3 separate regions of the Homo sapiens genome follow, and regions 2 and 3 are each linked to region 1. The links are contacts of gene promoters, found by promoter capture Hi-C in human tissues and cell types (Jung and others, 2019). All regions are on one chromosome and are shown on one strand. The core of a region is centred on a gene start or on the middle of the fragment in contact, and the rest is flanking DNA. Distances in the headings are between cores, read along the strand shown.

Region 1 (4,364 bases), core at 827-3,326:
TGAGTGGGACACATAGTCTCTGTCTCCCAACTACTCAACTCTACCCTTACAGAGCAAAATAGTCATAAATGAGTAAGTGTGGGCTGTGTCCTAATAAAACTTAGTTTAAGGTCACTGAAGTGTGAATTTCACATAGTTTTCACATCTCTCTCCTTCTTTCTTTTGTTTTCTTTTTTTCTTTTTTTTTTTTTTTTTCAGGGACTTGCTTTGTCACCCAGGCTGGAGTGCAGTGGGGAGATCACGACTCACTGAAGCTTTGAACTCCCAGGCTCAAGCAATCCTCTCACCCTAGCCTCCAGAGTAGCTAGGGGGCATGCACCACCATACCCAGATAATTTTAAAATTTTTTGTAGAGACGGGGGTCTCCCTGTGTTGCCCAGGCTGGTCTTGAACTCCTGGCCTCAAGCGATCCTCCTGCTTGGACCTCCCAAAGTGCTAGGATTACAGCTGTGAGCCACCATGCCCAACCTGTCACATATTATTCTTTAAAATATTTTAAATAATAATTTAAAAACAGAAATAATCATTCTTAGCTCAAGGCCAAAAAAAAAAAAAAAAAAAGGCAGTCTTCCCACCTGCTTCCCCTTTTCCCCACCTCCCCTCCCCACCCCACACACAAAAGACTGGATTTGGCCCTAGTGCCATAGTGTGCTGACACACATCTGCATTATCTCACTGGGTTAATAGGGCTTTTCTAAATGGTCAGATACACTGTGATTATATTGTCAAGTGAATGGGAAAGAGTTTTCCCGCTAGCCTTTTTTCCCACCCTACTGCCTCATCACTTTCTGCCACCCTCTGCCACTGAGACTGATGGGGTTTTAGTCAATCGTTTCTAAGGTTAAAAGTAGGCACTGCATGTCTAGACTCTAGACAAGGATCAATTACAAGGATAGGCAGCAATCTTAAGGGTTTGAGCGCTGGAGTGTCCTGATCGGGTTTGGGCGTTTTCACAGATGAAGCTCCCTTGATCAAGAGTGGCAAAGGGACACAGCAACAAGTTGTTGCAGTAATCTGGGGATAAAGGAAGGTGATCTGGACTAGGCTGGTAGAAATAGGGGACTAAGGCTGTTTTTGGGATGCCTATTTAGGATTGGGTGCTTGCTTGAATGAAGATTGATTAGCTGTTTTAAATACCTCTCACAGGATAAAAGAAATTGATTTTTTTTTTTTTTGAGACAGAGTCTTGCTCTGTCGCCCAGGCTGGAGTGCAGTGGCGCAATCTCGGCTCACTGCAACCTCTGCCTCCCGGGTTCAAGCGACTCTCCTGCCTCAGCCTCCTGCGTAGCTGGGACTACAGGCCCGGCTACTTTTCTCATTTTTAGTAGACACAGGGTTTCACTGTGTTGCCTAGGCTGGTCTCGAACTCCTGACCTTGTGATCTGCCCGCCTCGGCCTACCAAAGTGCTCGGATTACACGCATGAGCCACCACGCCCGGCCTGAAATTTTTTTTTTTTTTTAAAGAAATGAGTAAGTTTTTTAATAGTTTTTAAAGCGCTACCTAGGTTTAGCTGGGATACCGCATAATTTCATTCTTCTTTTACTTATTAATAACCATTTTAAAAACTGCAAGATCCTATCAATTTGTCTGATTTACTGATTCCCCTATCCCAAAGTGGAGCGCAAAATTTTTACTTTTTCAACATAAAAGTTAGTTTAAAATACTTTTTCTGAAGAAAAAAAGAAAGAAATCCGCATTCCCCACAGTCACTGGACAGGAATCTCGGCGTGGAGACACCCGTTCAATTTCCAGGGGTCTACCTTCCCCTACCCGGGTTCCCGCCGCTCCTCAGCGCCCAGACGCACCTCCTAGTCCCGCCCCCATGCTTCTTCCAGCCTTCCTCCTTCTTCTCCCACTGCCTCCGCCCATTCCCTCGCCCACCCGGGAAGCTCCGCCCCCTCCAGCTCCGCAACCCAACTCCTTCTGTCCTGCTGTCGCTTTCCTCTTTCCCGCCCCCATGGCTGCCTTCGATTGGCTAAACCTGCTGGGCCGCGGCGGGGATGCGGCGCAGCCGCATTCTGATTGGCTAGACTTAGGCCTGGACCCTAGTGATTGGCTGATAGGAGGAGCCAGCAAGTGTGGCTGAGCTCCGGGGTGTGTGGACGCCGCTTTGTTGCCTGAGGTGGGTGGCGGTGGAAGTTAAGGGAGTCAGGGGCTATCGCTCCTCGAGACTCGCAGTCGCGGCCACTGCAGTCACTTCGCCAGTTAGCCCTTAGGGTAGGAGTCGCGCCGGCAGCAGCCATGAGCGGCGGCGTGTACGGGGGAGGTGAGTGAGTGCGGCCGGACGAGAGAGCGCGCCTTTTCGGCGTGTGGGGTTTGTAACCGCCGCTCCCAGCCCTCCCCTCCCCGGCGTTCCCTTCCGGTCTCCCCCTCTCGGGACCCCGGCCTCCCCGCCCCGTCCCCGCCCCACGCTCTGCCCGCCCCCGGAGCCCACCCGGCTCGCCGTGCTCCTCGGGCTCCCTGAAGTGGCGGCTCTCTGTGGCCTCTTCCTGCCTCTGTCCCCGGAGGAGCAGGGTTTTGGGGTGCGCGCTCGGTTCTCTAGGGAGCCTCGGGGCTGGGCGGGAGGCTCAGTCTAGCCGGCCGCCGGGCCCCGGCTTGGGTGACCGCCCCAGGGTCGCATCTCCCCGAGTGCCTCCTGGACTCAGCTGTGTCGGGACGCGTGTGCGCCCGCCTAAACTTGGAAGGTCCCGGCGGTTTGCAAGCGTGGACGGAGGGTTCCCAGAGTGTCCCATAGGTGGCAAAGCGAGCCTCAAGCCGTAGAACTGACTAGGGAAGCGGCGGCCACTTAGGGTACTGCCTCCTCCCCGTCTGCGCCCCATGCGCGAGCTGCCTCACCTTTCAGTAACTCTTGCCTGTTTTTTGGCTGCGGAGTCTCCAGAGTGACTCGTGGGCGGGTCTGTTTGAGATCAATTCAGGAGCACGTGTAATTTAAGGATGCCCAGAAAGTTTGCTGGGGGTCCTAGGCGTGTTATTTTTTCACTTTCTTTGATTAGACTGTGGTGTGGTAGGAAGATTACCAGGTGCCGGGGGTTACAGACCTGGGTTGAAATATCCACCTCACTCTTTATTAAGCGCTTTGGTCTTGGGCAGTTTATGTAACTTTCCAACTTCAGGCCTCATTTATGGAATAATTCCTAGCCGATGGGGGTGGGCATGAAGGTTAAATGAAATAATGCTGCATTTGCCACTTAAAGTCTGGCCCATGGACCAGCAGTGTCAGCATCACCTGCAAGCCTGTTAGAAATGCAGGATCTCACGCGTCATTCAGAATCTACTGATTTAGAGCCTCCATTTTTGCAAGATCTGCAGGTTAATCGAAACACTGATACATATAATTCATGTGTTGGGTTGTGTTTGATGAGTTAGAGACCCAGAAAACAAATCCAGACTATTGCTGTTGTTACTGTGTCTAGTAGTGATGCTGTTTCTATAAAGGATGTCATTTTACAGGTAGGAAACAACAAAAATAAGATTTTTCCTTCATGTTCCCCAAGAAAATCACATCACCCCTAAACTTGGAAGGAGAAAAACATTAAAATCCTCAAAAAAGACAAAAGCCTTTTTAGTAGAGTAGAGGTTCAATTCTTGAGGATTTTTATAGACTAGAAATTGCATCCTAGGTTTTAAACATCCAGAACTCTGTGGTTCTATTAAGCCTCCTGCCTCCCATGGCCACTCTCCTACTTTGGGTTCATGGGGCTTGATTTTTAATGAAGCAGGGTACAGGAATTAGATGTATCTCCCATCCTGGAAAAGGAACAGATGTAAAATTCTGAGAATTTAGAGTCTTAAATTAAAATTCCACCATATCCAGTTTACTAAACTAATTAGGACAGGAAAATGAGCTGATATGTTGGATTTTTTCTATTTCACAAAAATGTTTTTTGAGTACTTGCTATGTGGCAGGTATAGGCTCTTGTCATCAAGAAGCTCAGTCTTGTAGATGAGTCTGTTAGGTAAATAGACACCGTATTTCACTGATTCTTCGTTGTACATTTTTTCCCACATTTAAACAGCTGAAGTTGGAATATGTCTTTTTTTTTTTTTTTTTTAATAGAGATGGGTCTTGAACTCCTGAGCTCAGGCGGTCTTCCCACCTCAGCCTCCCAAAGTGCTAGGATTACAGGTTTGAGCCACTGCCCCCAGTCAGAATATGTCTTAACAGTGCTGGCGTGGCAGAGTTTAATTGCCATATTATTTTGTTAGTGATGCAGGAAATAGTGGTGCATCATGTAGTTGATAGCATCTTATATTGATCAGAAATGGTAACTGTAATTCAATGAGAGATGTTCATTGATAACAATATGTAGAAGGGGCCGGGTGCGGTGTAATCCCAACACCTTGGGAGGCCGAGGCGGGCGG
Region 2 (4,364 bases), core at 737-3,236, 380 kb before region 1:
AGTGACACTGTAGATAATGAAGTGGGTGGGGAGAAATTGGATACTTTGTGCTTTCAGGGCCTCTTGTCTTAGTTCATACTGTCTACTTAACCTGTTGCACTCTTCTCATTCTGTACCTGTCAGAAATCAGGCCCACTTTCTCCTAAAATTACCACGTTCTGCCTTGTAGATTGTTAGATAATAAGGTCTTTTCAACCTCATTTATATACTTCATTTATATACTTGTATGAGTGTTTTTCTCCTCCTTTCCTTTCCATCACCCATCCCTTTGCTTCAGCTGCTAGTGTCTTAATAGAAGGTAATTGCTTAATGAATGCTTGTTGAATTAGAGACAGATCAGTCCTGCATATGAGAACTCTTTTAGGGTCTAATAGTGATAGAGAAGATTGAAAAAAAAAGGTGATGAATTTGAGGGTAATTTAAGGGGTGGAAGTGATGTCATGCAAGAGAGGAGTTGAAAGCACCAAATGTTTTAACCTTGGAGATTGAGAAAGTGGTGATGTCATGAAGAATGTATTCCACATTTGAATAATGAGCAGAGTAAGAGGTACCAACAAATGAAACAATTAAAGGAGGCCATAAAAACAACAGAGATCATTTCAACATTCTATTGAGGAAATTTGGGGGGACACACTTTAATTAAATAATAACATCAGTATTTCTTTACCTTTGTAACTTTTAATTAATGAAGATGTTTTAAGATGAAATATAAAATGTGAACCTGAGAACTGTTTAACATTTAACATTATGGATATACATATCCATGTTTAGAATGTTCTCTGTGTATTAATGCATGATTTTGTCATAAATACCCCACTAGGAAGAGAAAGGTCGGAGAGAGTGTGTGTGTCTCTATGTGTGTGTATTTGTGTGTTTTGTCCTGGCAAAAAGACAAACTGAGAGAACAGAAGAACAAAAGAGCAGTACTGAAAATAGCTAGATTAAAGGTTGTTTTTCTGTCACCACACACCAGATATGGAGAGTAGTAAAAGCAGACAGATGGACAGTTCTGTTAGTTTTGGAGTGTGTGAATAGAGAAAAGAAACATTCTGTTCCTTTTATTCAGAAAAGGAATTTCTAGACTAAATTACTGGTATCAGCAATAAGTTTCATATTCTGACCAAAGAAACATTATTTTTTTTTTACCCTAGGGATAATGACTCATGCTGTTCTCAGAATTTTGCTTTTGTGGAAACTAAAGTGCAGTCATAAATACGGCACTGTTATTTAGATCTTAGTGCTAATGATACTATTGTGAGTAGACTAGTGATGGGTAAGAACACTAGTATTATAAACCCAGTTGTAACAAAGAAACCAAGCACATCTTAATTAGCTGATTCTAGATGGGAAAGTAGATTTTTTAAACAAATTAACTAATTGTTTTAATTCTGTGAATTATGCAATAGAAATAGGACCCATAATTTTATTTTTTTAATACTTCATTATTTTGAGGGGTTTATGTCAGAAGTTAAATTTCTAACTTCCAATATTGACAGTGGAGATAATTAAACATATTTTCTCTGCCTTTTTTCCTTATGTTCCTCAAAATTAGTATAAGTCTACTAAATCATAGTCACATACACCATAAAGCACCTATCAAAAGAGTATCAGCTAGGTGAAGTTCAAAGATTATATTCTAGTTTTATTTTAACCTTTAAAGTCTTGTAATTTAAGAAATAGAGGTTTGAATGTCTTCTTTATATACCATAGTACTAGATGCTCTCACTCTGAATTTTTACCATGTCAGGATACTCCATCACATATTTATCTCTGTAATTATAATTATTGGGCACATACACAAAAGAGTTGTCCTTTACGGTATCTCTGTCCAACCTAAAAACTTTCCCATTTCTCTTCACTTTAATCTCTTCAGTCGTTCCCTTTCCTGAATTACCTCTTTACTCCCTAGTGACGGCTTAAAGTTTTAGATCTTAAAGTTCCCTTTTTCAAACTTTCTTACGTCTTCCTCTGTGCCTTTATTTTAATGTCAGCAGAAGTTAGCTCATGAATCATAACATGTGAAGCAGTTGTTTGGAATAATTGACAGCTTTTAATGACTTATGTTAAATAGCCAGTTTAAAAGTTTTTGTCAGTTGATAAGCTTTATAAAGAAGCATTTTAATGTATTAAATCATTGTAAGTAATTTATTGTTTAACTGCATGCCTTGGGTGGTTAACTAATGTCATACAGAGCATCAGTGAATAAGAGTGGCAGTATTGGCTGGGTGCTATGACTCATGCCTCTAATCCCAGCACTTTGAAAGTCAGAGGCAGAAAGATCACCAGAGCCCAGGAGTTCAAGATCAGCCTGGGCAACATGGCGAGACCCCATCTCTGCATTAAAAAAAATTTAGCTGGGCATGGTAGCACACACAGGTAGTCCTAGTTCCTAGCTACTCGTGAAGCTGAGGCAGGAGAATTGCTTGAGCCTGGGGTTGGGGCTGTAGTGAGCCGTGTTCGTAGCACTGTACTCCAGCCTGGATAACTGAGAGAGACCCTGTCTCAAAAAAAAAGGGTAATATTCTACTCACTGATCATGTATGTTGCTGCTTTTACACAGTTATACCCATTTCAGTTTGTCATTCTCATTGCTTGCTTTTTAAGGTATAGTAATTATAATTTCCAAGATACTTGGTACATTGAACTGTACATAAGTATAAATAAATAGTAAATGCTTGAAAGGGAAAATAAAGACCACTTACTAATATTTCTCTCCCACCATTGAAGTATTTTGGCTGTATTGTATTATCGAAAAGATGGATTTTTTAGAAATCTGTGCTTACATGACTTCACATTGTTGTTGCTTTCATTCATAGAACTTGTCTTCACATCTTAGCTAGGTGACACTTGTGCTGAAATTAAGCTACCCTCTCTCTGATTGCACTTCTGGGAGATCTGAGTTTCTTTGCTTGCCAAAGTTATTACTTCAAGCTTTCCTGTTGTGAAATAGCCCTTTTGCCAGAGATCAAATACTGAAGGATGATAAATCACTATTAGTCAATAATTGCTTGCAATGGACATTTTCATTATTACTAACATAATACTAGGATATTTTGTTATTGCCAGAAAATGGGGCAGATGGCAACCAATTACATCAGGATATAAAGTTATTGTTTGGTCTTTATCATGGAAAAAGCATTGTTATTTAAATCAAATTTTTACTGTATATCATGTCTTTCATCCAATGTCGTAACATCCCAGATAGACTTGGGGTGTATTCACTTAAAAAAATACAATATCTTACGTTCATTAGAGTATAGTTGGAAGAAAATGTATTATTTTTGCAAGAAGCTGTTTATGGATTTATCTGATTAATTTATGTAGAGCCAGGAAAAAGTTGTTTTGACCAATAAATTTGGCATTTGAAATGAGCAGGTTAAGAATAGACATTAAGTGATCACCTTAAGTGCAATAAAATTTCAGTGCACTATACATTCTGTGCTTTATATCTATTTGTAAGAATACCAATAATATATCAATATGGTATAAGAGGAAAGAATAAGAGATTACTATAATAGCTCCTAAGAAAGGAAATCAGTCCAAGGACATAGGCTGAGGTTGTGATGTGGACAAAAAGATAATAGCAAGGATAGATAAATAACTAGACAAAAATGTCAGGGACCTAAGTATTTATATGGCAAACAAGGATACTCAGTACATCTAGAGCCAGACTTTTTCCAGTGTCTAATCCTTGTTGTATATTAAATACTTTGGGAACTAAAATATGTTTTATGACACTGTGTTAACTGATGCATAATTATGTAATGGAAGCCATTAGGGCCTGTGTCTTGGCAGGAATTAAACTAAAAGCAAGGTCCTTCTAGTATTTTTGGTAGAAGATTATTGGCTAGTGCCTATTTTCACAGCACATACTACTAAAATTAGGAGGACGACAGAAGACGAGCATTGCCCCTCCCTGTGCAAAATTGATAGACACATTCAAGAAGTATTCCATATTTTTAAGCTAATCTTTTTATTTGATTCACTTACCAGCAGGCTGTTTTCCTGCTGCAAAGCAAATTGGTGGAGTCCATTTACACCTTCTCCTTAGCCTATAAGTATTGGCAGAATCACCACCACGATCACAGCAGCACAGTCCAGACAGTGTCATTTGATTTTGAAAATATTGTCCTTGCAACAGCCAGCTAGGACAATGACATACTAATATCTGCTTTGCTTATTATTTGTGCCTGGGAGTATGTAATCATAGTCAACAGACACCATAGCTACAGTTTTATGACACTTGGTCTCAGGAAATAGAGAACTCTACAGAAGACAGTAGACCATGATGAAGCTTTATCATTAGTCCCTGGTTCTCTCCCCTCCAGATCACTTTGGCCTTCTGACAGACAGTACAGATAAAT
Region 3 (4,364 bases), core at 1,294-3,793, 260 kb before region 1:
AAAGATTCTTGGTAGGAGAAAGAGAAATCCTTTATCCACATGTAATTTAGAAAAAAAACTATAAGCTAGCTTCTCCTACGACCAAAAGAGGCTAAAAGAAAACTTATATTTTTCTTTAAATATAAAAATGGGCCGGGCATGGTGGCTCATGCCTGTAATCTCAGCACTTTGGGAGGCAGAGGCTGGGGGATCACTTGAGGTCAGGAGTTCGAGACCAGCCTGGCCAACATGGTGAAACCCGTCTCTACTAAAAATACAAAAATTAGCCAGGTGTGGTGGCAGGCACCTGTAATCCCAGCTACTTGGTAGGCTGAGGCAGAAGAATCGCTTGAACCTGGGAGGCGCAGGTTGTAGTGAGCCGAGATCGCGCCACTGCACTCCAGCCTGGGCGACAGAGCAAGAGTCCATCTCAAAAAAAAAAAAAAAATATATATATATATATATATAATATAATCTACCAATATAATCTACATATTTGATTTAAAAATAAAATCTGCTAGTATAATCTACATATATGATTTTAAAGTAAAATTTTAAATTTTATTTAGAATAAATAATTTAATAATTAATAATTAAAATTAATAATTTTAAAAAATTTATTTTTATTTAAAAAGGGTATTATGCTGAGTGAAAAAGCCACTCTCAAAAGGCCACACACTGAATAATTCCATGTGTACAGCATTCTCAAAAATCACAAAAATATAGAGATGGAACACAGTGGTTGTTAGAGGTTACCTGGGAAGCGGGGGGAAAGGGATAGGAGGTGTGATTATAAAGGGGTAGCATCAGAGAGATCTTTGTGGTTTTGGACTGGTTCTGTATTGTGATTGCAGTTACAGGAATCTCATATGTGATGAAATGGCATCTGACTACACACACATTGTACTAATGTCAATTTCTGGGCTTTAATGCTGTACTAACGTTACATAACAATGTCAATACTAGGGGAAACAGGGTGAAGGGTACACAAGACCTCTCTCTATTGTCTTTGCAACTTCCTGTGAGTCTATAATTGTTTCAAAATGAAAGGGTTTTTTTGTTTGTTTGTTTGTTTTTAAAAGATCCCCAGGTGATTTAAGTACACACAAAATTTTGGAAACAATGACTCTGTTTGTTTACCTCAGTCACAAATGTGAAATAAATAGGAATAGAGTTATTATTTGTTCAGATGGTTCGGTAACAACCTAGTCACCTGGGGAGCCAAATAAAGAAAAAGAAACCCAGGCTTCAGACTAAATCAGATTCTGGGCTGAGCGCAGTGGCTCATGCCCATAATCCCAGGCAGGAGAATTGCTTGAAATAAGCCTGGACAACATAAAGAAATCCCATCTCTACAAAAAATAAAAAAATTAGCCAGGCATGGTGGCAAGTCCCTGTGGTTCAGCTATTCTGGAGGTGGAGGCAGGAGGACCACTGAGCCTAAGAGGTCAAGGCTGCAGTAAACTGCAGTTGTGCCACTGCACTCCGGTCTGGGTGACAGAGCAATACCTTGTCTCTAAATTAATCGGTCAATCAATCAATCAGGTTCTAACAAAGTGGCACTTGAGATTTTGCATTTTTCACACTCTCAGGTGAGGAGCAAGGACAAATTTCTGCCAAGGAATTAGACTGAAAAGATGTAGTGCCACATATGTGCATGCTTTTGTTAATATGTATGAGAAAAGTGGTCACTAATCTAGTCTTTTTCTTTTCTGTATCATCATGGAATAGTCAGTAACTAGTATCCCTAGGAATCATTATGAGGCTCCAAATCGTTCTGAGAAAAGAAATATATTTGTAAACACAAGTACATAAAATATTTACAAATATTTCTGTGATCATCAAATACATCTTCATTGGGAGGAAGAGTACTGAAGACAATAAAACAGCCTTCACAAATACACAGGGGGCTGTGAAAAGAGAAGTGTAAGTCATTCTTATACTAACTGGAGTTGGGGTGAAGAGTCCTTTGCTCTCTGTCGGCAAAGCTGTGAGTCCAGATCTGCTGAGAGCCATCCCCTTACCCTGACACATCCTCTCTAGTCCTTCCCACCCCACAGAGCTCTGATAAATCCCATCCACGGGGCAGGGAGAGTGAATCAGAGGCACAAAGAGAAACAGAAAAAAGGAAACAGAAAACTTGGTTTCAATTGTTTTCACTTGTCCTCTTTCCTGTCTCATTACAATTTTTAAGATAATGCTTTACTTATATCAAAGTAATATATGTACATATTTTTTAAAAGTCCAGTAGTTTTTGGCATTTGTTTGTTTGCTTATTTGTTTGTTTGAGATGGAGTCTTGCTCTGTCCCCCAGGCTGGAGTGCAGTGGCATGATCTCGGCTCACTACAACCTCCGCCTCCCGGGTTCAAGCGATTCTCCTGCCTGTCTCCCGAGTAGCTGGGATTACAGGTGCACACCACCATGCCCGGCTAATTTTTTGCATTTTTAGTAGAGACAGGTTTCACCATGTTGGTCAGGCTTCTCTCAAACTCCTGACCTTAAGTGATCTGCCCGCCTCGGCCTCCCAAAATGCTGGGATTATAGGCATGAGCCACCGTGCCTGGCAAGTCCAATAGTTTCATAAGGTTTCTAATATACAGCAGCAGTCCCTCCCTCCACCCCTCCTCATACCCAGTTTCTGCCCTGCCAATGGCAGCCACTTCCAACTCTTTTGGCTATAGTGTCTGACACTTTACTCCATATTCCAGACATCATGATTATATAGGAATTTGATATTTCAAGTTCAGATATCTTCTACTGGTATCCTATTCCTGATCAAAAGGGTTTAGATCTCTTCTACCTCCATCTGTTTATGTGGGAAAACCACCCTCACAACATGCACACACCCACACCCAAACACTCACTTCCTTATGTTTTTTTTTATTATTCTTGTTAAATATTTAGTATTTATATTATAGCAACTATCTAAATACATATTGCTGTTACCTGAGCCACTTCACTTTTAATTTTCCTTGGAGTTTATATGTGCTTCATTTGGCTTAATTTTCTAATTCATTTCAAGCTCTGTGCTAGAAGTATAAACCTCCTTTTGGTGCTTTTAAAAATACTGTGTATTCTACTTTGTTTGTTTTTAAATTTAGACATGTCTGGAGCTCTCCACCATTCCGTTTTAATTTCGATTTTTAAAATTCTAGGCCTGCTACATTATTGTATTCTGGGAATTATATTTACCATCATCCTGGCAATTCTCATTTTTCTTTTGTGTTGTTACTGGAGCTCACATATTTCTTTCTTGATTCACCCTCTCTTTCAATAGAGTATATTATCCAGAGCTTCCTGAAAAACAATTTGTTACAGTAAGGGTTTTAAAGCCTTGGTTGTCTTTATGCTACCCTTATTTGATTGATAGTATGTTAGCTATAGAATTCTAGATTGGATTTCATTTTCCCTTGGAAATTTGAAGATATTGCTTCATCATCGTCCAGTTTTCTATGCTTTGTATGTGTTCTACCCCCTTCTCCATTCCTTGAGTTTTAAAATCTTCTCTTTAATCCTGATGTTCTAAAATCTCACAATGCTCCATCAAGGCGTAGGAATTTTTTTTCCATTTATTTTGCTGGGCACTCTATGGATCCTTCAATCTGGACTCATGAGCTTTTATTCTGAGAAAGTTTCTAATACTTTTTCCTGATTATTTTCTCCTCTCTTTTCTATGTTCTGTCATTTTGGAACTCCTCATTTGAGCATTGGATCTGCTCAAATGATCCAACTTCCTCATATTATTTTTTAAACTTTTGTTGATTTAATTGTTTTTTTCCGTGTCACCCACACTGGAGTGCAGTGACACAATCTTGGCTCACTGCAGCCTTGACCTCCCAGGTTCAAGCCACCCTCCCACCTCAGCCTCTTGACTAGCTGGAACTGCAGGTCCATGCCCAGCTAATTTTTGTAGAGGCAGAGTTTTACCATGTTGCCCAAGCTGGTCTCAAACTCCTGAGCTCAAGACATCCACTAGCCTCAGCCTCCCAAAGTGCTGAGATTACAGGCATCAACCATTGCACCCGGTCCCTAATCTAACTAGTAATTTAGCTAATGCATTTTTAATTATCAAAAACGTTTTCTTGATTGTTGAATGTTCCTTTTTTAGTTTAGTTTTGTTTTTTTTTTTCCTATTTCATGGCTCAAAATCTTCTTCTCCCTGGATTGTCTCTTTTCTTCTAATTTAAAAAAAAAAAACAGTGTTTATTTTCTTTCTTGTTGAATGCTTTTCCCAAATCTCTTATGGTCCTTGGGTACTGCCCACATTTAAGAGTAAGTAAGGCTCTACAAAGCTGTTTGGGAGCACAGTGGTAGCCTTTATTGTAGGGTGATCAGGCCAGGACCCAGCTATTTTCCTGGGGGCCCACATTGTCCCCTGCCCATA

The links. Contacts are between HindIII fragments. The study calls those that stand out against the background at their distance.
Region 2: a contact is called between a fragment that was not itself captured here and the fragment with the promoter of ACTL6A in region 1, in 1 of the 25 tissues and cell types used here (heart right ventricle).
Region 3: a contact is called between a fragment that was not itself captured here and the fragment with the promoter of ACTL6A in region 1, in 1 of the 25 tissues and cell types used here (small bowel).

What each region holds. Positions count from the first base shown.
Region 1 is chr3:179,560,850-179,565,213 of GRCh38, forward strand. It overlaps ACTL6A (actin like 6A), which reads left to right and starts at 2,077. Exons shown (of 14, transcript NM_004301.5): 1 at 2,077-2,268. The coding sequence starts at 2,244. RefSeq lists a silencer at 1,939-2,168. The HindIII fragment of the contact is 12,889 bases long and covers 1-4,364 here.
Region 2 is chr3:179,180,167-179,184,530 of GRCh38, forward strand. All of the region lies in intron 1 of PIK3CA (phosphatidylinositol-4,5-bisphosphate 3-kinase catalytic subunit alpha), which reads left to right. Among named protein-coding and RNA genes, the nearest start is that of PIK3CA, 34 kb to the left of the region's middle. The HindIII fragment of the contact is 3,251 bases long and covers 362-3,612 here.
Region 3 is chr3:179,302,760-179,307,123 of GRCh38, forward strand. No RefSeq gene overlaps it. Among named protein-coding and RNA genes, the nearest start is that of ZNF639, 18 kb to the right of the region's middle. The HindIII fragment of the contact is 7,407 bases long and covers 1-4,364 here.